Regions from separate parts of the Homo sapiens genome. Here regions 1, 2, 3, 5, 6 and 7 are each linked to region 4. The links are contacts of gene promoters, found by promoter capture Hi-C in blood cells and fetal thymus (Javierre and others, 2016). All regions are on one chromosome and are shown on one strand. Each heading gives the region's core, a stretch centred on a gene start or on the middle of the fragment in contact. The rest is flanking DNA. Distances are from core to core; before and after follow the strand shown.

Evidence for each region. Contacts are between HindIII fragments. The CHiCAGO score rates a contact against its expected background, and 5 or more counts as called.
Region 1: a fragment that was not itself captured here is called in contact with the fragment with the promoter of PDE6H in region 4 in 1 of 17 cell types (neutrophils); the score reaches 7.7 in neutrophils.
Region 2: a fragment that was not itself captured here is called in contact with the fragment with the promoter of PDE6H in region 4 in 1 of 17 cell types (neutrophils); the score reaches 8.5 in neutrophils.
Region 3: a fragment that was not itself captured here is called in contact with the fragment with the promoter of PDE6H in region 4 in 1 of 17 cell types (neutrophils); the score reaches 7.8 in neutrophils.
Region 5: a contact is called between a fragment that was not itself captured here and the fragment with the promoter of PDE6H in region 4, in 1 of 17 cell types (neutrophils). The highest score is 13.2, in neutrophils.
Region 6: a fragment that was not itself captured here is called in contact with the fragment with the promoter of PDE6H in region 4 in 1 of 17 cell types (neutrophils); the score reaches 5.5 in neutrophils.
Region 7: a fragment that was not itself captured here is called in contact with the fragment with the promoter of PDE6H in region 4 in 1 of 17 cell types (neutrophils); the score reaches 6.9 in neutrophils.

Annotation. Positions count from the first base shown.
Region 1 is chr12:14,616,642-14,620,404 of GRCh38, forward strand. It overlaps GUCY2C (guanylate cyclase 2C), which reads right to left. Exons shown (of 27, transcript NM_004963.4): 24 at 2,570-2,668; 25 at 1-86. PLBD1-AS1 (PLBD1 antisense RNA 1) reads left to right here. Exons shown (of 6, transcript NR_120465.1): 5 at 2,511-2,732; 6 at 3,097-3,114. Among named protein-coding and RNA genes, the nearest start is that of GUCY2C-AS1, 47 kb to the right of the region's middle. The HindIII fragment of the contact is 2,241 bases long and covers 817-3,057 here.
Region 2 is chr12:14,633,553-14,637,582 of GRCh38, forward strand. All of the region lies in intron 19 of GUCY2C (guanylate cyclase 2C), which reads right to left. Among named protein-coding and RNA genes, the nearest start is that of GUCY2C-AS1, 30 kb to the right of the region's middle. The HindIII fragment of the contact is 2,774 bases long and covers 230-3,003 here.
Region 3 is chr12:14,494,479-14,498,179 of GRCh38, forward strand. ATF7IP (activating transcription factor 7 interacting protein) reads left to right here. Exons shown (of 15, transcript NM_018179.5): 14 at 1,753-1,865; 15 at 3,176-3,701. The coding sequence ends at 3,595. Among named protein-coding and RNA genes, the nearest start is that of PLBD1-AS2, 34 kb to the right of the region's middle. The HindIII fragment of the contact is 5,948 bases long and covers 1-3,701 here.
Region 4 is chr12:14,971,362-14,975,123 of GRCh38, forward strand. It overlaps PDE6H (phosphodiesterase 6H), which reads left to right and starts at 1,681. Exons shown (of 4, transcript NM_006205.3): 1 at 1,681-1,725. The HindIII fragment of the contact is 3,244 bases long and covers 77-3,320 here.
Region 5 is chr12:14,570,408-14,574,218 of GRCh38, forward strand. The region is part of intron 2 of PLBD1-AS1 (PLBD1 antisense RNA 1); the gene reads left to right. Among named protein-coding and RNA genes, the nearest start is that of PLBD1, 4.4 kb to the left of the region's middle. The HindIII fragment of the contact is 5,629 bases long and covers 1-3,811 here.
Region 6 is chr12:14,688,256-14,692,208 of GRCh38, forward strand. The region is part of intron 1 of GUCY2C (guanylate cyclase 2C); the gene reads right to left. All of the region lies in intron 4 of GUCY2C-AS1 (GUCY2C antisense RNA 1), which reads left to right. Among named protein-coding and RNA genes, the nearest start is that of GUCY2C, 6.4 kb to the right of the region's middle. The HindIII fragment of the contact is 2,724 bases long and covers 1,320-3,953 here.
Region 7 is chr12:14,598,608-14,602,202 of GRCh38, forward strand. All of the region lies in intron 2 of PLBD1-AS1 (PLBD1 antisense RNA 1), which reads left to right. Among named protein-coding and RNA genes, the nearest start is that of PLBD1, 33 kb to the left of the region's middle. The HindIII fragment of the contact is 4,698 bases long and covers 1-3,595 here.

The DNA.
Region 1 (3,763 bases), core at 687-3,186, 350 kb before region 4:
TGTTTCTCCTCTCACTTCATAAAGGAACTGGCACTCAGTTCTCTTCAGGATGGCTATGGTGGAGCCACTCACGTGAATTCTCAAAGCTGGAAATGCAAATTGACAAATAAAAATCCCAGCTAGTACACAGCCTATTTGTTTCCCGTTGATTCAGGATATCAACAACACCTGAGACAAGAATCCTAAATCAAGAAGAAACAATTGTGGCTATTTTAATGAAAGAACACTTAAAAATAACATCAGAGAGATAAGAAATGGTATAGTTTGGATATTTGTCCCCACCCAAATCTCATGTTGAATTTTAATCCCCAGTGCTGGAGTCCTGGCCCCCGACCAGGTGTCTGGGTCACAGGGGTGGATCCCTCATGGCTTGGTGCTGTCTTTGCGATACTGAGTTGTCACAAGATCTGGTCATTTAAAAAGGTGTGGCACCTGCCCCTGCCACTCTCTTTCTTACTCCTGCTTTTGCTGTATGAAGTGCCTGCTCCTGCTTTGTCTTCTGCCATGAGTGAAAGCTTCCTGAGGCCTCCCCAGAAGCAGATGCAGGTGCTATTCTTCCCTTACAGCCTGCAGAACCATGAGCCAATTAAACCTCTTTTCTTATAAATAACCCAGTCTCAGGTTTTTCTTTATAGCAATGCAAGAATGCCCTCACACAAGAAATATAATCTCACGTGGGAAGAAAGAAGGCCTGGCATCAGTTTTCAGGGCCCTGCGTGATGTGATGGGGATCCCTAGGTTTTTCTCCATAGATTCTCATTCCAGCTCAGAGTAGTAGCCTGCGGGACCTAGTTTTAGATTTGGCTTGTAGTGCCAAGCTTGGGTGTTGGAGTTTGGTTTTGGGTCCCTGTGGAAAAGTTCCAATAAATAGCTAAAGCCTTGTGGGCAAGGTGAAGATTCGGGAGAGTTGAGGGGTCTTGATTTTCTCAAATTTCCTTCTTCTGGAACATTGTTATCCTTTGACAAAAGAAGTGGTGAGGGCACGCCCATTCACAAGTCCATTGATGTGTATCACCTTTCCCAATATAGGGGCCTAATAGCAATACCACAAACAATTACACAGTAAGAATAATGACAATCCCAAATTGTATACCTACCATGTACCATGATTGCTAAACGCTTAACATGACATCATCCCAAATTATTTCAGAAACCCTCTTGGCACGGTTGGTATTCCATTTTCAATTTGTATCTTTATCTTTCTGAGGGCTAGAAGGATCAGGTAGCTTTCTACTCAACTTATACTGAGAATGATTAACATAATTTCAATTGTAACCCAAGTCTGTCTGACCCCAACCTTATCCTTTTCCTTGCCAGCATGATTTGCCAGGACAAACTAGTATCACATTGTCAGTACACTACCAAAATACCATCCTGCCTCCTGTGGTTTCGTAAGCCCCAGCCATGTCTCCCAGTGCTTATTTTCTCTCTTCTATATATTTCTACTGCTACCACTGTCATCAATATTTATTGAGCATCTACTTCATGCAGCACATTGTGCCTCTACCTTGCCAAGCAAATGCAATATATTCCTTCGTATATAACAAATGCTTAGATTTTTCTTTACTAAAATCAATTCTTGGTTGGGTATGATGGCTCTTGCCTGTAATTCCAACACTTTGGGGCTTTGGGGGACCAAGGCAGGAGACTTGCTTGAGCCCAGGAATCTGTGACCAGCCTAGACAACATAGAGAGACCACACCTCTACAGAAAAAATTAAAAAATTAGCTGTGCATGGTGGCATGCCTGTAGTCCCAGCTACTTAGGAGGCTGAGGTGGGAGGATCACTAGAGCTGAGGAGTTCAAGGATGCAGTGAGCTGTGATTGTGCCACTGTGCCAAAGCCTAGGCGACAGAGTGAGACCCCATCTCAAACAAATAAACAAAAATCAATTTCCAGAAAAAACGAATATGCTTTGGGAGGCCAAGGTGGAAGGACTCCTTGAGGTCAGGAGTTTGAGACCAGCCTGGGCAACATAGTGAGACCCAGTCTCTATTAAAAATTTAAAAATTATCTGGATGTGCTGGTATGTTCCTGTAGTCCCAGGTACTTGGGAGGATGAGGTGGGAGGATCACTTGAGCCCAGGAGTTCAAGTTTACAGGGAGCTATGATCGTGTCACTGCACTCCAGCCTGGGTGACAGAACGAGAGCCTGTCTCTAAAAAACAACAACAAAAAAGCAAAACCAAATAAGAGGGAAACAGGAATGTGAACCAGAGTGTGTAGTTCTTACCTTGCCTACTGATTTTTTTTTAACTTTCATGAATCTATGGTAAATGCCAGGACTATTCTAAGTAGAATATCCCCAGATTCATTGTATATGAGCCAAAAATATAGAAATAGTCTAAAACTGAGCAAAAGTGGAAGAATAAAATAATTATCAGTAAACAACAATGAAAGCAAATGTAGCAAAAGGTGGATTGACACGGGTTTGTGTTCAGCTAATGTGAAGAATTATTCTACATCTCACTGGCACTTTGTATCTCCTTATTGTGCATTTTATCTCACAGTTGCCCTCTGCTGGAAAACAGCATCTTTGTCCTCTGAGAAAAACAGTCTCCCTTCTTACGGAGGCCAGTGGATTCCATCCTAGAGGCTGTGTTGACCGTATCTCCAAATAGACAATAACGAGGCATCTTGATTCCCACAACTCCAGCAGCACAGGGACCTGAAATGAAGGACAGAAAGCAGGAAGTGGAGGCAATAGAAATTGCAGAGTAGAGTGAAGACAGGTAAGCCTCTCTGTATGGTCACAATCCTGAATACTTCCTGTCATGGAGAAGTAGCTGAGGATGTGAAATGTGAGCTGGGACTTTTGGTTTAAATGGATGAATCCAATGAAGCATCATTATTCAATGCATGCGATCATAAAGTATTTTGCTCTCGCAAAGAAAACGACATTTGTAGCAAATAGGAAGGCATTCAGAGATCCAGATCACAAAGGTGATTTTAAATAGAAGGCTCTCAGGAAGGATGAAGATGAGCCCCACTGCTTGCTTACTGTGCCAAACCACACAACCCTGAATTTCACACTGCTGGAGGGCACTGTAGATTTGAAGCTTCAATGGCTCAAGTTTGTTTTATTTTTATTTTAAGGTGGCATTTCTGGGATTGGTGCCATGACAATGGAAGACAGAAGACAAGACAAAGGCATAACTTTCCGTAAGCATTTCATGGACCAGGCGAATGCAGCTGGATGGGGAAGCCTGTGGCACAAGGAGGTTCCAACAAGCAGAACAAAAGCCCAGGCTAGACTATGCGCTGTGGCATATTAGGTAGGAAATAAGGGTTATTCAGTCATGTATTTGCATAGAATGACTGAGTGCAAGGTGTTAACAGTTTCAGAAGTTAAAGATTAACTCAAAAACTGCAAAGCTGAGTTTTAAGCAATGCCTGGCTAAAGATTCATCTAGATGACTTCTGAGTTCCTCTCTTACAGGTGTTTTTTCTATAACACCTGTAACTCATCTCAAACCTTGATGTTCAAGGCTGTTGAATTAAACTAAGTTTGGCCTGAGGCTGCCTCTTAGGGGTCCCTACAAAACAAACTGCAACCTAGCTTGGTACATAAACAAACTAAAAGCCTAACTAGGGTATACTTACGTTATAGATAGCTGAGTCTCAGCCAATCGCAGTAGCTGAGCTTCAGCCAGTCACAGGCTGTCAACTGATGGGACTTTGACCAAATCAGGGGAACACAGAGGTTTGACCAATCAAGTTGTTTCTGTCCCTCACTTCTGTTTTCTGTCTATAAACATTGCCC
Region 2 (4,030 bases), core at 367-2,866, 340 kb before region 4:
GCAACAATTTCCAATGAAAAGGAAATTAATAAAATTCTGGAAAAATAATTAAAAATAATATTAAAGGAGCTCAGTGAGATATGGGAGAATACAGAAAAATAATACAAAGAAATAAAAAAAATTCAGGATATGAATGAGAAATTTACCAAAGAAATAGATACCATAAAAAAGAATAAAACAAACTCTGGAACTGAAGAAGTCATTCAATAAAACACAAGATATATTGGAAAGCTTCAACAATATGCTAGATCAAGCAGAAGAATTTCAGAACTTGAAGACAGGTCTTTTGAAATAATCCAATAAGACAAAAATAAAGAAAAAAGAACAAAAATGAATGAGCAAAGCCTACATGATATAGACACCATAAAGTGGCTAAATACTTAAAATTTTTGGTGTCCCAAAAGGCGAAGAGAAAACAAAAGGAATACAAAACCCATTTAACAAAATAATAGCAAGAGATTTAGACATTCAGATACAGGAAACTCAGAGATCCCCAAATACATATAATTAAAAAAGATCTTCTCCGTGGCACATTATAGTCAAATTGTCAAAAGTTAAAGAGAAAATTCTAAAAATAGCAAGAAAAAAGCATCTGGTTACTTATAAGGAAACCCCCATCAGATTAACAGTGAATTTCTCAGCAGAAACATTACAGGCCAGGAGAAAAGGGATGAGGTAGTCAAAGTGCTGAAAGAAAAACCAAATTCCAGTTAAGGATACTATATCCAGCAAACTTATCTTTCATAAATGAAGAAGAAATAAAGGCTGTCCCAGGCAAGTGAATGCTAGGGAAATTCATCACCCCTAGACCTCCCCTACAAGAAATGCTTCAGGGCGTCCTACGCCTGGAAGTGAAAGGATGTCATCTACCACCATGAAAACACATGAAAGTATGAAACCCACTAGTAAAGCAATCACACAAAGAGGGAAGAGAAGGGTCTCAAAGGTTACCACTGCAGAAAACCACAAACCATAATGAAAAACAAGGGAAAGAAAGGAACAAAGGATGTATAAACAACCAGAAATCAATTAATCAAATGAAAGGAATAAGCCCTTACATAATAATAACTTTGAATGTAAATGGATCAAAATTTTTCACTTAAAAGATATAGACTGGTTCAATGGATTTTTAAAAATGACCCAACTGTAGGCTGCCTACAAGAAACTCATCTTATCTGTAAAGAAATATGTAGACTGAAAGTAAAGGGATGGAAAGATATTCCATGCAAATGAAAACCAAAAGCAAGCAAGAGTAGCTATACTTATATTAGGTAAAACAGACTTTAAGTAAAAAACTGTAAAAAGAGACAAAGGTCATAGGTCATTATATAATGATAAAGGACTCAATTCAGCAAGAGGATATAACAATTCTAAACATATACACACCCAACATTGAAGCATACAGACATTTAAAGCAAATACTATTAGATCTAAAGGAAGAAGTAGATTCCAATCTAATAATAGTTGGGGACTTCAACACTCCACTCTCAGCATTAAACAGATCATAAAGACAGAAAATTAACCAAGAAACATTGGATTTAAACTGCACGTTAGAACAAGTGAACCTAACATTTACAGAACATTTCATTCAATAGCTAAAGAATAAACATTCCTGTGATCAGCACATGGAACATTCTCCAGGATAGACCATATGTTACGACACAAAACCAGTCTCAACATATTTATAAAGAACCAGAATTATATCAAATATCTTCTCAGGCCACAATGGAATAAAAGTAGAACTCAATACCAGGAGGAACTTTGGAAACTACACAAATACATAAAAACTAAACAACATGCTTCTGAATAACCATTGAGTCGATAAAGAAATTAGGAGAAATTATAAAAAATTAAAACAAATGAAAATTTAAACACAGCATACCACAACTTATGGGATACAGCGAAAGTACTGCTAAGAGAGTAGTTTATAGGAATAAATGCCTGCATCAAAAAATCAGAAAAAATTCAAATCTAACAAGGCACCTCAAGGAATTAGAAAAGCAAGAATAAACCAAACCCAAAGTTCGTAGAGGGAAAGAAATAATAAAGGTCAGAGTAGAACTAGACAAAATAGAGGTTGAAAAAATAATACAAAGGATCATTGAAATAAAAAGTTGTTTTTATGAAAAGGTAAACAAAGTCAATAAACCATTAGCTAGACTAACCAAGAAAAAAATGAGAGAAGATCCAAATAAACAAAATCAGAAATTAGAAAAAGACATAAAAACCAATTGCACAAAAATGTGAAAGATTATCAGAGACTATTATGAACAACTATATACCAGCAAACTGAAAAATATAGAGGAAGTGGAGAAATTCCTGGATAAATGCAATCTACATAGATTGAATCAGAAAAAAATAGAATACCATAGAATACATGAACAGACCAACAATGAGTAATGAGACTGAATCACTAGTCTCCCAACAAAGAAAAGTCCAGAACTGGATGACTTTACTGCTGAATTATGCCAAACTTCCAAAGAAGAACTAACACTAATTCTCTTCAAACTATTCAAAAAAATTGAATAGGGAATTCTCCTTCATTCTACAAGGCCAGCAGTACCCTCATACCAAAACCAGACAAGGATACAACAAAAAAGGAAAACTATGGGTCAATATCCCTGAGGAACATAGATGCAAAAATCCTCCAAGAAAAAAAATACTAGCAAACTGAATCTAACAGTACATCAAAAAGATAATACGCCATGATCAAGTGGGATTTATCCCCAGGAAGCAAGGATGATTTAACATATGCAAATCAATAAACATGATACATTACGTCAACAGAATGAAGAACAAAAGCCATATGATCATCTCAATCGATGCAGAAAAAGCATTTGATAATATTCAACATCTCTTCTTGATAAAAACTCTCAAAAAACTAGCCATAGAAGGAATATATCTCAACATAATAAAGGCCAGCCATATATCACACACCCACAAAATAATAAAAGCCATATACTACAAACCTGCCAATATCACACAGAATGAGGAAAAGCTGAAAGCTTTCCCTCTAAGAACTGGAACTAGACAAGGATGCCCAATTTCACCTCTCCTATTCAACATAGTACTGAAAGTACTAGCCAGAGCAATTAGGCAAGAAAAATAAAAGGCATCCAAATTGGAAAACAGGGAGTCAAATTGTCCCTCTTTGCAGATGATATGATCTTACGTCTAGAAAACCTAAAGCTTCACCAAAAAGCTCTTAGATATGATAAATTCAGTACAGTTGAAGGATATAAAATTAACATACAGGCTGGGTGCGGTGACTCACACCTGTAATCCTAGCACTTTGGGAGGCCAAGGACGGTGGATTGCCTGAGCTCAGGAGTTCGAGACAAGCCTGGGCAACATGGTGAAACCCCGTCTCTACTAAAATATAAAAAAAAAATTAGCTGGGCTTGGTGGCAGCTGCCTGTAATCCCTGCTACTTGGGAGGCTGAGGCAGGAGAATTGCTTGAACCTGGGAGGCGGAGGTTGCAGTGAGCCGAGATCACTCCACTGCACTCCAGCCTGGGCAACACAGTGAGACTCTGTCTCAAAAAAAAATTAACATACAAAAATCGGTAGTGTTTTTATATACCACCAATAATAAACTCAGCAGGAAAGAAATCAAGAAGACAATCCCATTTACAATAGCTACCAAAAAAAAAAAAAAACCACCTAGGAATATATTTAACAAAGAAGGTAAAAGACCTCTATAAGGAAAACTACAAACACTGATGAAAATGAAGAGGACAAAAACAAATGGAATGATATCCCATGCTCATGGATTGGAAGAGTTAATATCACTAAAATGATTATACTGCCCAAAGCAATCTATAGATTCAATGTAATCCTATCAAAATACCACTGTCATTTTCCCACAGAAATGGAAAAAACAATCCTAAAATCCATACGAAACCAAAAAAGAGCCCAAATAGCCAAAGCAATCCCAAGCAAAAAGAACAAAGCTGGAGGCATAACATTACCTGATTTCAAAATGTTCTATAAAGTTGCAGTAACCAAAACAACCTGTTACTGGCACAGG
Region 3 (3,701 bases), core at 844-3,343, 480 kb before region 4:
TACATATAAACTAATTGTATATATACTTTATATCCTACTATATATATACAGTATATCTTAATTATATATAAATATTAAATATATGTAAAATACTTTATATATAGTGAATGTTTATATATATAAAGGGGAGTTTATTAAGTATTAATTTACATAATCAGAAGTTCCCACAATAGACTGGGCATGGTAGCTCACGCCTGTAATCCCAGCAGTATGGGAGGCCAAGGCAGGCAGATCACTTGAGGTCAGGAGTTCGAGATGAGCCTGGCCAACATCGTGAAACCTCATCCCTACCAAAAATACAAAAATTGGCTGGGTGTGGTGGCACAAGCCTGTAATCTCACCTACTTGGGAGGCTGAGGCAGGAGAATCTCTTGAGCCCAGGAGGCGGAGGTTGCAGTGAGCCGAGATCATGCCACTGCACTCCAGCCTGGGCAACAGAGCCAGACTCTGTCTCAAAAAAAAAAAAAAAAAAAAAAAGATCCCACAGTAGGCTGTCTGCAAGCTGAGGAGCAAGGAAGCCAGTCTGAGTCCCAAAACTGAAGAACTTGGAGGCCAATGTTCCAGGGCAGGAAGCATCCAGCACAGGAAAAAGATGTAGGCTGGGAGGCTAAGGCTAAGCCTGTCTCTCCTTTTCACGTTTTTCTGCCTGCTTTATATTTTCTGGCAGCTGATTAGATTGTGCCCACCAGATGAAGGGTGGATCTGCCTTCCCCAGTCCACTGACTCAAATGTTAATCTCTTTTGGCAACATCCTCACAGGCCCACCCAGGGTTAATACTTTGTGTCCTTCAATCTAATCAAGTTGACACTCAGTATTAACCATCACACATATGTTGTAGTTTTGCAAAATGTGACAGCAAGGGAAAATATAGCTATTTAAAGAAACACAGTAATGCTATCATTTAGAAAATAAACTGATTGGAGTCCCTGGATCATAGCTTGGCTTCAACTCTCTCAAGTTTACAAGAGCGTTGTCTGGGAAAATTAATCAACAAGGTTAGAAATGAGTTCTGGGAAACTTGGCTCACTATAGTCCAGGAACCAGGCCGAACTACAGCATGGGCCAGGTACTGAATAAATGGCAGGAATATAGTTAGGGCAGTAGGTGGCTCTAAATTTTCTCTTTTTGTTTCCCTGGTGTATGTCACAGCAGTTTTCTGTGGGGTGAAGTGAGTATCCTCAACCAAGGAGCTGGGCATGGAGAAAATGAGAGGAACCTCATTAATACATGGCAAGGATGACTTATTCTGGCTTTCTGTCCTGGTTGAAAAGATGAGACTGCAGAGATTTTTATGAAGATACTCCCAGTTTGTCTGTCTTTTGAGTCACACTGCTCCATTATGGCCATTTACCTTTTACATGTGGTACACAACCAGTGTTCTAGGATTTTTGTTCATAGTTCTCCTGGTAACGATCCATTTATTTCTCCCTGTGCTGGACCTCCTGTTGCTTGTGTCTCGTGTTTTTCTCTTTATTTTCTCACGTACTGGTGGCACATATTCTCCATTGACTATTTGAGAAAGGGTTTGTGGTAGTTAGAATTTTTTTTTAGTGCTTGCATGTAAGAAAGTTTTTTTATCCACAGGCTGATTGATAGCTTGGCTGAATACGAACAGGACCTCTAGGTTAGAAATATCTTTCCTTTCGAATCTTGAAAACATTGCTTCACTGCCTTCAAATATTTAATCAGTTTTCCACCAAATTTACAATAGAATTATCATTTTATCCTGTAATTTTTTTGTTTGTTTGTAGGTGTTACAGTTCGAGTGCCTCAAACAACCACATATGTTGTAAACAATGGACTAACCCTGGGATCAACAGGACCTCAGCTCACAGTGCATCACCGACCACCACAAGTGCATACTGTAAGTGTTGATGCTTGGTTTTGCAAAATTCTCAACTGTAGAGGTATAAAATATTATTGTATTTGGCATTTTTCTTTAAAATGGTTATATCCAAGGGAAGTGTTAGGTCTTCCTGCTTTTTCAGAAGTTTATTTCTAAAAATTGATCTTACCATTATGAACACATAGTTCCTAGGGATGATGATCATTTAGAATCATTGAGTTTGCTTGTGGTGTACAGTGTACAAAAACAGGTCCACAGTTGGGGTATATGAAGTGAAATATAGACCATTTCTAATTCATAGTTAAATTAAAAAGGACATTTTTCATTTCTCCATGTGTTAATTTTATTCTTTCGTTCTAAACTATGCCACATCTAACTGCTACATTGTCATCAATTAATTGTTCTAAAGAATCCAATGATATTGGGAATTCATTAGTTAAGAGGTAACAGAGATAACCAAAGATTTCTCCTTAGATTTAGCCTCCAAAACAATGTCACATTATCCTGTGACACAATTTTGTCAGTGTTTGACTGGTATGAAATATCATTATAATGATGATGATGTTCCAGTGTTAGAAAAGTCAATAGGACTTCCTAAAGTTAGAGTCATGTTTTTTCATCATCTGGCCTTAACCTACCTTTCCAGATTTTTCTTCATGTACCCTATGTCCAAGAAAAAGTTAATACTTGTTCTTGTCCATACGTCCCCTCACTTTACTGTCCACATGCCTTTGCTCATGCTTTATTTTTGGCTGAAAGGTACATGATTATTTCTGCATCTCTGGATCCTCCTTCACAGTTGAGTTTAAATATCACCTTTTTCTTGTAAATTGGCCAAGAATATAGTACACATTTAGTGTTAATGTGCTTATTTATAAATAACTTAAAAATGAAAGTATATTTGTATTCTCCAATTTTATATGATCTTGGTTGCCATACATGATATTTAAAAATGTTACATCATACTGAAATGATAATCTGTAACATAGATAATTCAATCATAAATTATTTTGTTAGAAATAGATCATTACTTCCGTGTTCCTCAAAATGATGTTCCGTCAGCAGGGGCTTTTTATTTCCTAAGAAAAACTCAAAATATTTTAGGTCTAGGAAGTATAGTAGGAATAACCTCAGCATCATTGTTTGTAGCATGATTCATTACAAAACCCCAAATAGAACTTGCCAAATTTGATATGGTATTTGGTATTTCCTAGAATTCTTGATATAAAATGATACTTCTACGTATGTTCTCTAAGGTGTTTTAATTCTAACATTCTAAAATAGTTCTTTTTGCAATCATCATTAATCAGTGTGACCTGTTTCTTCAGGAGCCCCCACGCCCCGTGCACCCAGCACCCTTACCAGAAGCTCCACAACCACAGCGTCTGCCCCCAGAAGCTGCCAGCACATCTCTGCCTCAGAAGCCACACTTGAAGTTAGCACGCGTTCAGAGTCAAAATGGCATAGTACTGTCATGGAGTGTCCTGGAGGTGGATCGAAGCTGTGCCACTGTTGATAGCTACCATCTCTATGCTTACCATGAGGAACCCAGTGCCACTGTGCCCTCACAATGGAAAAAGATTGGGGAAGTCAAGGCACTTCCCTTGCCCATGGCATGTACTCTCACCCAGTTTGTATCTGGTAGCAAATACTACTTTGCAGTACGAGCCAAGGATATTTATGGACGTTTTGGGCCTTTCTGTGATCCTCAGTCAACAGATGTGATCTCTTCTACCCAGAGCAGTTAAACCTTGGAGCCTTTATATTTTCCTCTTTTAAAATTTCCACCTTTTGGTCTTGTTTTTAATCTTGTGCATGATACCCCATGTAAAATCCACCTTGTGCAAGATTTCT
Region 4 (3,762 bases), core at 431-2,930:
CTCTAAATCATTCATTTTACATATGAGGAAACTGAGACTCAGAGAGGTGACATATAGCAGATAAGTGGTAAACCCAAGCTTGCATATGGGTCTAGAACAGTACTTTTCAAACATTAATATGCAAACACATCACCTTGGACCTTGTTAAAAAGCAGATTCTGATTCGGTAAGTATGGAGCAGGGCTGAAATCCTGCATTTTTAACAAGTGCACAGATGGTGTTGCTGCTGCTGCACTTTGAGTAACAACATTCTAGAACATTCACTCAGCTTTTGGCACTTTCCACTGTCCTTAAAATTTGTATTCTTTCATCAAGAAAATGGAGAATATGTAAAAGTTTGACAGATAAGCATCTGAACATTAACGTGCCTGGTATGTAATAGTAAAGGAAGATGTGAATGGTAATGGAGATACAGAGGAGGGAGCAGAGGGACTCATCCAGAGACCAAACACTTTCCTGGCTTTGCAAGGTAATCATTGCTTTCAAAACTCAGAGGAATTTTGGTAAAGACCAGTGGAGAGCATATGAATGACTCTCAAGCTGTCTAGTTGCTCATGTAATCTGCTTAGGGCTGCAGGTTAAGAACCTCTCCCTGTCTAGAAAGGATAAATTGACCTTCTTTCTCTGTAATGTTATGGAGTGTAATTTTCTAATAGGTAACAACTGGGGAAAGAACATTGAAATTCACTGGCAAGGCATGGAAGTGACCAGCAAACAGACATCTTGGTCTCTGTCTGCTTTGATGTAGTGCAGCACAAAGACAATTGAATATGCAAGGTACTTCCAGATTTGGGCCCTGTTCCTGGCTCCACTATTAATTTTATTTGCAGTCTTGAATAGGTCACTTAATCTTTCTATGATAAATTTATCAAAAGAGCTTACTGATAACTACCATATGGGTTGAGATCTATTTAAAATACAAAAAGTATTAATCTATTAATAATTAATACTAGTGGATCAATAAAATAGGAAGACTGAGTCAAGGAGTCTCAGTAAATTGGATTGTACCCTAGACCCTACACCCTGAAACATTTAGGTACGGAAGATCCAGCAATCGATTCTCAAATAAGTGTCCTCAGTTAACAATTCCTAGCTGTCATTTGGGCCCTTTCTGTGTCAGATATCAGTTTTGACTCTGAGGTTCCATCTCTCTGAGGAAATTCGCACAATACCAGTTAGGGAGACATACTGTGTGTTTCCCAATGTCACTGCCCGCATGTTCAATGTCCCTGTATAGCAGGAGGCACTGTGGCTCCCTCTCTTCTCTCCAGTTATCTAGAGCCCCATAAGAATTATGTCACTGTGTATATGTGTGTGTGTGATTGCGCACATAGGTGTGTGTTTGTCAGAGAAAGGGAAGAAATGGGGGTATTGAAATCTAAAGGTAAGAATAAAAAAAAGACAGAAGATATTGAATCACAAACTGAAATTTACCCTTGGATATCAACACTTTTTGTGTTTTTGTGAATACAATACCTATTTATTGACTGGAATGAACCCAAGTCAGTTTTGAAAGGGCCTCTAATTATTGGAAAACTCCTAAGCCTGTCCCAGCATCAACCCATGTTCTCCTAACTTCTTTGCACCTGGGTTGCTGTTCTGAGCTTATGACGGTGAGATTAGGCAGCATGAGGGTATTACAGAGAGATAAGTCAGGATGCAAAGATCCTTTTGTCTTTTGCAAAGAAGGCAGCTGGGCAGCTGATAGGAACAACATTCAGCTCCGTGAGTACTTCTGAACTTCTGGTGAATTTGAGCAGGATAATTGAAGGGCTTTGGGGGGTTGATCAGGTTCCAAAAGAAAAATTGCAGAAGAAAACATGTTGGACCTGTGGGCCTGGGCTGTGGCTGGGGATGAAAATGGGAAAGAACATGAAGGAGATACATGCAGACCTTCTTGTTATGCCATGGGACAAGCAAATAAGTGAAACTTGATTATTACAAGGTCACTGCAAAACTTGATTACTGAATTCATTTAGAAGGAGCCCAATAGTGACCTCCCTGTTTGCAGCTTCATAGTAAACAGTTTTCTGAAGAAGGAGGAATCTGTGGCACTAAATAACCACAGAGAAAACAGTTCTTTACTCCCAGGATGTGCCTGCAAACTTGGCCCAGGATGGTGTGAGTGTGAGGAAAAGGAGAAGGGGAGCTGAGAGCATGAGAATGACCACAGGGCAGGGCAGGTGGCTGAGCCTTCTCCCTTTGAGGTCAAGTGTTTGTTCCATTCTGAAGCAGGGTGCTGGCTGGAATTTTGGTAATTTTTTTTTTATGGCTTTGGTTTGGGTCTTGCTTTGCTTTTCAAATTATTGATTTTCTCTGCCTCAGCAGGACCCTGGGTGATATTTATGGGCTCAACCCCAGCAGTACTTCCCTTCCCAGCTCCTTCCTGCCTCTTTCTTTGTCCACCAACAATGGACTGGTCTACCTGTCTATAGCTTTGCTGAGAAAAAGAGAACTGGAAGTGTAAGGTGATAACAGCAGCATCAGAGAGCTGTCTCAGGAACCTCCTAAAACTGCTTTTCAGAGGATCATCCTCTGTCACTATATAGAGCTGGGCTTTGCTGTATAAAGAAACAGAAGATGATTTTTTGCTTTATACAAATCTTTAACTTTGTTAAGTTGACCCTAATCCCAGTCCCCTAAAAAAGTATGCCTTGAAATATTACTTTGCTGCATCCACTTATTTCTGCAGAAAAACAGTTTGTAATCTTCAAAAGGGGAAGGGCTAACATTGCTTTAAATACAGGAAAATGTTCTGGCTCACAAAAGAATAAATTGCCTAATGCTTTTGGAGGAAAAAATATGAAACTTCTTTCAGCTAAAATCAAGTCTGATAATACATTTAAGGTTACTCAGCTCCAGATGCCCTTAGAATTTCTAGAAAGGTGTGGTCAGCATGAGGTTAGCCTTTGGTGATGTTTATGGACAACAGGACTGGCTTCCAATGCAGGAAAAGGTCAGAGGTGTTCTACCCTTCCTAAAGGTTTTGCAGAGAGAATTGGAGGGTAAATCTATGACAGAAACTGCATAGGGATTAGTCGACTGTTCCGGTTACCTAGTGCAAATCCTGAGCACCATTAGGATCAAGGGATTAACCTGGCAACTGTTATGTAACTCTTTCTGAGGAGGCTTCTTTCATATAATGCATCATACTCAGACATGAACACTTTCTAAGCCTAGAGGTGTAACTTCAAAATTATGTAAAAATGCAAAAGAAACTTGCAAGAAAAAAGGGGATGTATCATTGGGGAATATGGATGTCACGTGTGATTTTTAAATTCTTCGGGGTTGCTGTTGGGGTGTCAAAGGAATTCAAGGAAAGCTTCTTAAGACAGAATTTTAAGACCAGAAATAAGTTAACAGTCGGGGTGTTTGAAGGAAGCAGAGAATTACCCAGCGAGGGCAGATGATAATTGCCCCTCTGGTGTATGGCAAGGGCCCTTCAGCAGTTGGCCCAGAGGAAGGAGGTGCAGAGTCCAGGTGAACAAGTGTCATAACCACAGATTTGTTTGCATGGCTTTCTTTTCTCTCAGAAGGTCTAGCATATATTTGCCCTTTTTGAACACTTTGTACCACTCTACTTATATTGTCTTCCTAAAATTTCCCCATAACTCTAAAAGGAAGGTCTTGTTTGATTCATTTTATAGATGGAATAAGACCCACAGAGGATTATGAAATTTATCCTAAGTCACGTAGCCAGTTCTGTGGAGTAGGAACTTAAAACTATATCAGTTTGATTCTAAAGAGTGTACTCTCTACCGT
Region 5 (3,811 bases), core at 231-2,730, 400 kb before region 4:
AAGTCATCCCTCTGAGGCTCACCTGAGACAAATGCACATCTGATTGCTTCCTCTGCAGTATTGTTTATGTAAAAATGCAGACTCCCTGGGCCAGACTAAGTTGTGTATTCTGTGGAAGGCTGATCAAGGATTCAAAAGAATGTAACATTTTGTCTCTTTTCTACTTCTAACATGGAATACCCCACTTTGAGTTGTCTCGCCTTACCATACTGAACCAATGTACATCTTACACGTATTGACTGATGTCTCATATCTCCCTAAAATGTATAAAAGTAAGCTGTACCCCGACCACGTTAGGCACATGTTGTCAGGACCTCCTGAGGCTGTGGCCCTGGTGTGTCCTTAACTTTGGCAAAATAAACTTTCTAAATTGACTGAGACCTGTCTCAGATTTTTTGGATTCACATACTAAAGCTGCAATGAGGAGAACCAAAGATGCCAGCTGCGAAATGTTCTCATCACTTCTATAATGGACTTGTGTGGTTTGGGGCTACTCAGCGTCCATTATTCTCTTCCTGTACCAACTTTTGGTGCAGGAATGCCAACTTTTGGTGAGCCAAGGGTGGAGGTGTTTCTACCAGGAGACACAATAAGGAAGTATTATTGAATTGGAATTTGAAAGTGCATTACTGAATTGCAATTGGTCTTTTTTGAGCTCCTCTTAAAACATAAAAATATGTTTGAATGGTTAAGAATAGGATTGTAGTATTGGTAATTTTGCCTTACTATCAAAAGGAGTAGGAGCATTGGATGCGGTGGCTCACTCCTGTAATCCCAGCACTTCAGGAGGCCGAGTTGGGTGGATCACTTGAGATCAGGAATTCGAGACTAGCCTGGCCAACATGGTGAAACCTCGTCTCTACTAAAAATACCAAAAATTAGCTGGGCATAGTGGCTCATGACTGTAATCCCAGCTACTTGAGAGGCTGATGCAGGAGAATCAGTTGAACCCAGGAGGCAGAGGTTGCAGTGAGCTGAGATCGCACCACTGCACTCCAGCCTGGATGACAGAGAGAGATTCCATCTCAAAAAACCAAAACCAAAACAAAATGAAAGGACTGGGAGCATAATCTCACCTGGGAAGCACCACTGGGGACTCAGACTCCTCATCCCAATGGGCAAAGAATCCCAGCAGCTGAGTTGCTGGCCCAAAGCAAGGGGAACATGGAAAAAAGGTGGAGAAGAGAAGTCACATATAATTATCTATAGCCAGGTGACCAGTTGCAGAAACAAAGATAGTGGTCTCTATTGGCCTCTATATTTCTTTCCTTGCTGTAACATGTATGTGGTGGATTGAAAATTTTACAGTTACAGTTCCAGAATGAAATATCCAAAATGTAAATTTGTTTCTTTTCCAAAAAAGTGTAATTAACTTAGCATTCAAACACATCCACTGATGGTAATTTTTTTTTTTTTTTAATTTTTTGTAAGACAGGATCTCACTATGTTGCTCAGGCTGGTCTCAAATTCCTGGGCTCAAGTGATCCTCCCACCTTGGCCTTCAAAAATGCTGGGATTACAGGTGTGAGTCCAACCAGTAAAAATTTTTAAATACCAGATTTAAGGTTGCGCAATTTCATTTGGACCAAATCCTTAGTGTCCTTTGCCTTCTTTATGTCCTTACCATTTTTCCTTAAGGATGACCTTAGCTTCGGGGGCTTATGTATTGACTTGGTACTAAATAAGGGACATTTACTCTGTGAGTCATACTCTTGGCTTAGTGGCCTCCACTAAGATATAGCTTTTTTTCTCATTCGGTCTGCAGGAATTGTAGTGCATAGGCATCTGCTGTTGGTATCTGCAGCTTTACCTTGACCTCGGATTTAGATTTCCAGATACTCTGTGTATTAGTTAATGTAATGCTAGCTATGATGACAGATAAACTCCAAAAGTTCATTGGATTAATGCAACAAAAGTTTATTGGTGTCTTGTATGCCAGTCCAGTGTGGGAGTTCTTAATCAGTAAGTGGCTTTCCTCCATGTAGAAATTTAAGAACCCACCTATCTTTCATCTTGTGGCTCTGTCATTCTCTAAGGCAGAAGTTCCCATGCTTTCTTGGTTTATAGTGCCCGTAGAGTGTCAGTAATATATTTTTAGGGCTGCAGACCAAAAGAAATACCTAACAGTTCTTTTTACTAAGTAGTTAGAGCCACACAATGCAATAGTAGTCATTTGCTCAGTATCCTACAGATGGTGCTACATGTCCCTCAAACATTTAAAGTATCCCAGAGAGCTCCGTTGATTGATTATAGTGTATTGTGCTACTACTGTTTCCCATGAGTATTTACTATATTCTCAGGTACACTCTGTGCATTCACTGTGGTTGCCAAACTGTGTGCGGGAACCATAATGCTATGGAGTCTTGTCTTCTGGCGATGGGAAGAGAAAAGCACCCCTCACCCCTGCTTCTTCTTTTTTTGTTTTTATTTATATATATATATATATTTTGAGATGGAGTCTCACTCTGTCGCCCAGGCTGGAATGCAGTGGTCCTATCTCGGCTCACTGCAATCTCCGATTCCCGGGTTCAAGCGATTCTCCTGCCTCAGCCTCCCTAGTAGCTGGGTAGCTGGGACTACAGGTATGCACCACGATGCCTGGCTAATTTTTGTTTTTAGTAGAGATCAGGTTTTCTCATGTTGGCCAGGCTGGTCTAGAACTCCTGACCTCAGGTGATCCACCCACCTCGGCCTCTCAAAGTGCTGGGATTACAGGCATGAGCCATCATGCTTGGCTGCACCCCTGCTTCTTAATAACTTCTGCTTACCTTCCATTGGCAGAGCTAGACATATTGCCCTATCTTTATGCTAACAAGACTGGGAAATGCAGCCTCTACCTGGGATGTCATTGCTCGGTATGGAAGTAAGAGCGCGCATTTCTGGTAGGCAGCCAGCTGTTTCTGACACACTTGGCAACCTCTTCATCCTGACTTGGATACTCTTGGGTCGTTTGGCTCATTCTCAAACCCCTCTGAGCCCTGCGGGAGTGGCAATAGGGCCTGAAAGCTAGTCTGATCTAGTGTGCATCAATTAATGAGCCAGCCATTGGGTTCATCTCCCCAAACATCTCCCTCAGTTATTGCTACTTTACAACTCAGGTGCCATGTGGGATTATATGGGTCCTATTCAAGGCTTGCAATTTTATGGGTATGTTCTGGAAAGTTTAAACATGTCTGCTCTGGTAATTAGAGACCTACTTTGAGTTTCTATTAGCAAACATTTCCACACTCTGCCTCACCCATCAAACAGATGACTCCCCCGCTAACGAGGAGGACAGTCCTAGACCCTTCACATCGACCCATTATGTATTTATCTCATCAGCTCTTCAAACTTTTTACTTCTGTGGGCAGGAACGAATTCAACATTAACATATATTGTTATTCTAATTTATTGTTCTTTAGTATATCATATGCTCTTCTGTTTCAGTCTGTTTTTCCATTTTCCAAGTTTTGATATTTCAAAACATTTTTCTCTTTCAGATTCATAGATCTTATGTTTTCATGGCTTTGAAGACTATTGTCTCTGTACACACAAGGTCTCAGAAAGCCACAGAGTTTACCCTTTGGTCTTCTGATATTTTTGTTTTTTCCTCCCTTAAGCAATAAGCCTTTGCCTTTTGGAATAAATATAGCTGTGAAAGATTTACTAGGTTAAATAAGAATTTCTCAAAAGAAAAATATGTAGAGTAAACCGGGTGTGGTGGCTCACGCCTATAATCTCAGCACTTTGGGAGACCAAGGTGGGTGGATCACTCAGTCAGGAGATTGAGACCAGCCTGGCCAATATGATGAAACCCTGTCTCTACTAAAAA
Region 6 (3,953 bases), core at 1,432-3,931, 280 kb before region 4:
CTGTTTCTCTCTCTCTCTCTCAACAGTTTTATTGAGGTATAATTTATCTATCATAAAAATCATCCATGTTGAGTTTACGATTCAATGACTTTTAGTAAATATATATATAGTTGTGCAACCATCCACATGGTCCAGTTTTAGAACATTTTCATTGTGTTCACTGACCTCTTCATCTTTTCACAACCCTAGATGCAGCAGGTCTCCTGTATGGACTGGAGAGTGTTGGGAAGCAAAGACATAAACATTATGATAACCTGTTCTTTCATGGTCCCCAGGTGCTATTTGTTGCCAACTTGCAGGAGGCTGCAGTCTTCCTTGGTCTCTGATCTTTATCTATCCAGTCAACAAACAGTTATTAAGTTCCTGCTATGTGCCAGGCGCTCTTCTTTGCGCTCATGATACAGCATTGAACAAAAGTTCCCCCTTTCAATAGGCTTACATTTTCTTTGTGTGTTACACAGAATAATGCATTTCTGATAGGGTGGTCATGGAAGCCCTAGGGGGAGCTGGGACCTGCGTGAAGACTTAGCCATGCGACACATGGTTTCTCTGGTCAGAGGGAACAGCAAGGGCAAAAATCCCAGGCAGGACCCTTCTTGGCATTTCAGAAAGAACAGGGAGGCCAGCGTAGTCCTGACAGAGTAAGTGAGAGGTAGTATGGGTGAGATGTGAGGTCAGAGTGAGGCCACACCGTGCATGACCATGTGGACGTTAGTAAGTGCTTTCAATTTATTCCAGGATAAGATGTTTTGGAGGACTTTGAGCAGAGAAATGATATTGTCTGACTATTATTTTTAAAGGATATCTCTGGATCCTGATGCAGAGAATAGATTGTGGGGAACAGAAACAAATGCAGGGAGACTAGTGAAGACACGATTCATAACCTAGGTTAGATTGGACTACAGTAGTTGGAGCAAAAGTAGAGAAAAATGGTTGCATTTAGGATGTATTTTGAAGGTAGGAAATTGATAAATGCAATATGAAGTATGAGAAAAGAGGACTCAGAATAACGCCAATATTTTTGGCCTGAGCAAGTGGGTGAAGGGAACTCCTATTGACCAAGATGAGAAAGAGTGTGGGTGGAGCAGGTTTGCTAATGTGGTGTGTGTGGTGATGGAGGTGGACATGTCAGGTGTGAGATGCCTGTCACACTTCTAGATAGAGAGGACACTAAGCAGTTGAAATACACCCATCAGAAATAGTTATTAATGCAATCATTCTTATTGATAAAAAGCTGTCACATCTGTGGCTCAGATTTATCATTCTTGCTCAAAAGGGGTGTCTTGGTCAGTTTTCTAGAAATCAAAGCCTGAGACAAAAGCTTTATTGAGTTTGTCTTACCAGAGTCCCATATGCAGTAAATAGTGGGATCTGAAATGGAAGCCGTGATTATCTCATCCCAAACCAATTGTACATTTTTGATATCTCAAATGAAAACTCACGCATGAGGGAATGGCCTTTTACCAGCTTAGTGATGCACCAAAATGTTAAATCCAAAATTTATCAATGGGTATGATTGTTTGTTCTCAATGAATCTTGCTGTATTACAATTTTTAGACCCTGTCTCTCCTGGAGCATTCAAGATACTGAGTAAATAGTCTATGAGAAAAATACCTGCATACCCTCAGGAAGTTCCCTGCAGCTGTACCCACACTTCTCACATGAAATGAAAATGGTTAACAGTTAATTATCATCTATTTTTCCTAAAGAAGGTGCTGCAGAATTCTGTTTTCTTTCTTAGTAGACAGGGAAGGAGATTGTGTAACATTACAAAATTGCCAGAAAACCCCTTTGTCTTTAAAATACATCCTCTTACTTTAAAATGTTTCTAATCAAGGATAAAGAAAACAAAAATGTGTTCATTAGTGTCCTAAATTAGATGAGAGTTTTGTTTGGATTTCACTCTGACTCACACATTTCTCCTCTTAGAAAGCAATACAAGAATTGAAAACAAGTTTCTCTTCAAAATATCTGTTTGGTCACAAGGATGGCTGGCCTTACTGACCAGAACACCACTCCTGGTGTTAGGCATTTCCTCTATGGGCTACTCCCAAAGCCAAAGTGAATTATGTTCATCCTGGCTTGAGGTCTTTGTATAATGGAGAACTCCCATATTTAGATGAAAGCAAGGGTCTTGCTGGCGATATCCCTGGGGACTGCTAGGCACCACGTTTTAGAAGGGAATAGCAGAACCATTTGACCACAATCTATTAAATTTTGGTTCCTTCCAGTAAAAAATAATCAGGACAAATGTCTGATTCCTAAGCAGGGATGTTCTTTTTTTTTCTTTTTCTTTTTCTTCTTTGAGACAGAGTCTGCACTGTTGCTCTGGCTGGAGTGCAGTGGCGCGATCTCTGCTTACTGCAAGCTCCACCTCCCATGTTCATGCCATTCTCCTGCCTCAGCCTCCTGAGTAGCTGGGACTACAGGTGCCCACCACCACACCCGGCTAATTTTTTGTAGTTTTAGTAGAGACAGGGTTTCATCGTGTTAGCCAGGATGGTCTCGATCTCCTGACCTCATGATCCGCCCGCCTCGGCCTCCCAAAGTGCTGGGATTACAGGCGTGAGCCACTGTGCCCAGCTGCAGGGATGTTCTTAAGTTTGCCAAGTCTAGAGGGAGTCTGGAAACCTCAGTCCACAGTCCGGCATTATGAGTGATTTCTTATGTGTTCTTGTACAAGCCATTTTAATTTCTCTCACTTAGTTTCTCGCATGTAAAATGAGGTTAAAACCAAGTTTGTAAAATGGGATAATTTTTAATAGCACCTTTAAAAGAGCAAAGCATGTCTATAATAGAAGTTGTTCTTCTGAACAAATAAGAATGTTTTTAAAGGTAGAGACTTGTTCTTTCAAAGAATGGAGGAGTCTTTGCACTTCTACAGCCACTTGAGAGATGTCTACCAACTTTGCTTTTTTAAGTTCGAAAACACTGATACTTTATTCAGTAAGATAGCTGATTGAGAGATGTCAGTACTTTGGTAGGACTAGCCAAATAGGAGACTTCAATGTAATTAGACCAGTCAGAGATATCTAATGGAAGAGAAGTGGGGAGTGATGGGTTTAATAGCAGTTCACACTTAATTGAGTGTAACCGCGAGTCAGCTTCAGTACTAAGCCCCATATGCCTTTTATTTAATTTTCATGACAATAGAAAGGATATAGAGAATTTGAAACCAGGAGAACAGAATGAATGAGGCTACAGTGGACCTGGGGGAATGAGAGAGGGCATGTGAGGAACTGTAGAAAATAGGGTTAGAGAGGGTCTTGGAACACTGCAAGAGGAGTCAGAAAGTGACGTGGAGGGTAGCACACAGTCACATGAAGATGGCCACACTTGCAGCTCCTCTCTCTTGACCTCCTGCCTCTATGAGGGCTTTGTTCTGTCCTACCACCATGAGGGACAGTGAAAATGACACTTAAAAATCCAGTGCTCCTGGCAGCCCATGACTGATACAGCTAAACTCAAGTAGAAACCCTGGCACAGTGCCTGGGAAAAAGGGAACCAACATCTGTTGAGTGTGACCTCAGACAAGTGACTTCCCTACTGGGCCCCAGTTCCTCATCCACTTGTTAATAGAATAGAGCCAGTTGATCTCTTTCACTATATGCCTAGCTTTGGGCTGTGATTTTTTACAGGTATTATTTCACTTAATCCTCTCTGAATCCTTCAAGGTAATATTTTGTCATCCTCATTTAAACATGAGAAAATGGAGGTCTGGAGAGGTAGATTAACTTGTTTAAGGCTACACAGCTTGCAAGTAGTAGCGCAGGGATTTGAACCTAGGGAAGTCTAATTCTAGAACTTTGATATGCTGTAGAACAGCAGTTCTCAAAGTATGAGCCACTGAGGTACCCTTTAGTCCCTTTCAGGGGATCCATGAGGTCAAAGTCATTTTTATAATTATACTAAGACATTCCTTATTTTTTTCTACTCTCCTTCTCTCATGAGCA
Region 7 (3,595 bases), core at 471-2,970, 370 kb before region 4:
AGTTCCTGCATCATTTTATTGCGATTCTTAGCTTCCTTGGATTGGGTTTCAACGTACTCCTGCATCTCCATGATCTTTATTCCTTTCCACTTTCTGATTTTTTTTCTTCTTTTTTTTTTTTTTTTTTTTTGAGGCAGAATCTCACTCTGTTGCTCAGGCTGGAGTGCAGTGGCACGATCTTGGCTCACTGCAACTTCTGCCTCCCAGGTTCAAGTGATCCTCCCACCTCAGCCTCTTGAGCAGCTGGGATGACAGGCATGTACCACCATGCCCAGCTAATTTTTGTATTTTTAGTAGAGATGGGGTTTCACCATGTTGGCCAGGCTAGTCTCAAACTCCTGGCCTCAGGTGATCCACCCACCTCAGACTCCCAGAGTGCTGGGATTACAGGCATGAGCCACCACAAATGTCCCATATTCTGAATTCTATTTCTGTCATTTCAGCCATCTCAGCCTGGTTCAGAACCCTTGCTCCTTGACAGTTCAACTCACCCATTCCCCTGGAGTCACTGGGGGCCAGAAACAAATCCCAGTTCATGGTAGCCCCATGCAGGATTCCCAGGTTCTTCCTGCTTCAGTCCAGCTTCTGTATCTTCCCTCCATCCACTCTCAGTGCTTTCCCTCTGAAGATCTGTTAGGAGTGTACCAGTTGTCTCGGTCTCTCAGTAGCAGCTGTTCCCCCTGGCTATGTCTAGTCAGCCATCTTTCTTTCTCCCGAGGTTATTCATTTTAAGGAAGAATATTACAGAGGTATTAGAACCCTCCCAGTGCATAACATGATGTTAATATGTCATTCCTTGTGAAATTAACCTTAATTATCTGGTTATTGTGGTATCTGAAGGCTTCTCCACTTTAAATTACTATGTTTTCTATGTAACAATAAATATTTGAAGGAAGGCACTTTGAAATTATGCAAATATCCTCTTTCTTCTTAAACTTTTACTCACAAATATTAGCATTAATTAGTGGACCTTGCCAGTAGCAATGATTACAGTAGTGTTCTAATATTTATTTTTAAATTTTCTTCATTTTTCTACTTATTAATATGATTTTTCTGTAAGGTGGAGTTGTCTCTTCTCTATCAGTTATTTATGGTTAATCATTTATTTATATCTGTGTGGAGTCACAGATATTTACTTTATTCTTTAGGTTATAATTCAATACTTTATTTCATTATTTTTGTTTCAGCTTTAGTCATTCGGAGCTTTTTAAAATTGACTTCCATGACATTTTGACAAGCCTCCATTTTTTGTTTTTTGGTGGTTTTTTTGCACCTCATTACTTTCTGGCAATGTGAGATGATCCAGTCTTATTTTGTATTTTTCCTGTCACAGCCTTGAAATCAATCACTTGCCTAAGGAGTCCTGGTTCTTTTTAAGAATAATAGCTAGGGGCTGGGTGTTGTGGCTCATGCCTATAATCCCAGCACTTTGGAAGGCTGAGGCAGGAGGATTGTTTGAGGCCAGGAATTTGAGACCAGCCTGGGCAAAATAGTGAGGCCCCCATCTCTACAAAAAGTAAATAACAACAACAACAAAACTGGGCATGGTCTACATGCTAGCTACTCAGGAGGCTGAGGTAGAAGGATTGCTTGAGCCTGGGAAGTTGTGGCTGCAGTGAGCCATGATTGCAATACTGCACTCCACAGCCTGGATGACAGAGCAAGACCCTATATATTAAAAAAAAAAAAAAAAAAAAAAAAAAAGGTATTTAGAAACCGCAATCTGGACACTAGTTGTGTTCATTGCTGTTGGGGGTATCACTAATTCTAGATCTTCTCAGTGAGTTAGTATATACTCACATATACATTTATTTCTCTAGCTATCTATTAAAAATCCACAAGATTCATAGTGTTACTACTGATCCAATCCAGCTCTTCAAGGTTAATTCTGGCATTCCTTTTTTGTTTATTTATAAATTTTTTCTCTGACAGTGAGAAACCTGTTGCTCATATCTAAAATATATTTATCTAATTGACCTAGTCTACATTTAAAGTGGTTTCAATTCTAACTTACCCTCTTCTGAAAAACAAATTTATCAATTAGACTACAATGTTTTGTACAGTGCTTTTTTTAGCCTTACAGAATCCACTAAAAATGCTGTTTTCCAAAGTATCTTATGTCAGCTCCTTTCTTTACCACCCTCTTCAATGAGGGTATGCCATTCTGTATAATAAAGTTAGATTTATTTTTCACATTCTACATTCCATATTGGGTTCCATCCACATCTGATTGCTTTATAAAGAATTGCTTGCAGTGAAAGTCTTCCTTTGTGGTATACAGTTCTGAAATTTTGAGAGATGCATGGTCATGTGTTTACCATCACAGTACCATATGAGACAATTACATTACCTCCAAAATTCATTTGTTCTATCTTTTTTCTTATTCTTCTTCTCTTCTTCTTCTTCTTCTTTTTTTTTTTTTTTTTTTTTTGAGACAGGTTCTCTTTCTGTCACCCAGACTGTGTTGCAGTGGCACAATCTGGGCTTGCTGCAATCTCTGCTCTCCAGGATCAAATGATCCTCCCACCTCAGCCTCCCAAGTAGCTGGGAACATGGGCACACACCACCACACTCGGCTATTTTTTTCTGTATTTTTGGTAGAGACGGGGTGTCACCATGTTGCCCAGGCTGGTCTTGAACTCCTGAGCTCAAGCAATCTGCCTGCCTCAGCCTCCCAAAGTGCTGGGATTACAGGCATGAGCCATGGAACCTGGACTTCTTCCAGCTCACAATTCCTAGAATTTGTAATCAAATTCTTCCAGCTGACAATTCCTAGAAATCACTGACCTAGTTTCCATTTCTAGAATTTTTCCTTTCCCAAAAAGTCATTTAAATGAAATCATGCAATATATAGTCTTTGGGGTCTGGTTTCTCTTAGGGAATTGTATTTAAGGAATCATCTATATTGGCTTTTTAACATTTAATTTTGTTTTTTATTATTTTCTATGGATACATAATAGTTGTACATGTTTATGTATTACATATGACATTTAGATATTTGCACACAATGTGTAATAATCACATATGGGTAATTGGGATACCCATTACCTCAAACATTTATCATTTCTTTGTGTTGGGAACATCCCAAATCTTCTCTTCTAGCTCTGAAATATACAATAAACTATTGTTAGCCATAGGCACTCTATTGTGCTGCCAAACACTAAATCTTATTCCTTCTATCTAACTATATTTTTATACATTAACCAATCCCTCTTCACCCCCCCCTTTTCCACTACCCTTTCCAGCCTTTGGTAAACACCGTTATATTTACTACCTCCATGAAATCGATTTTTATTTTAACTCCCACACATGAGTAAGAATACACAATATTTGTCTTTCTGCACCTGGCTTATTTCACTTACCCATAATGTCATCCAGTTCCATTCATCTTACAGCAAATGACAGTATTTCATCCTTTTTATGGTTGAATGACATTTCATTATATATATACAGCACGTTTTCTTTAGCTAGTCATCCATTGGTAATCACGTAAGTTAATTCCATGTTTTGGTTATTGTGAAGAGTGCTGCAATAAACATGGGAATGCAGATATCCCTTCAATATCCTGATCTTCTTTCTCTTGGATATATACCCA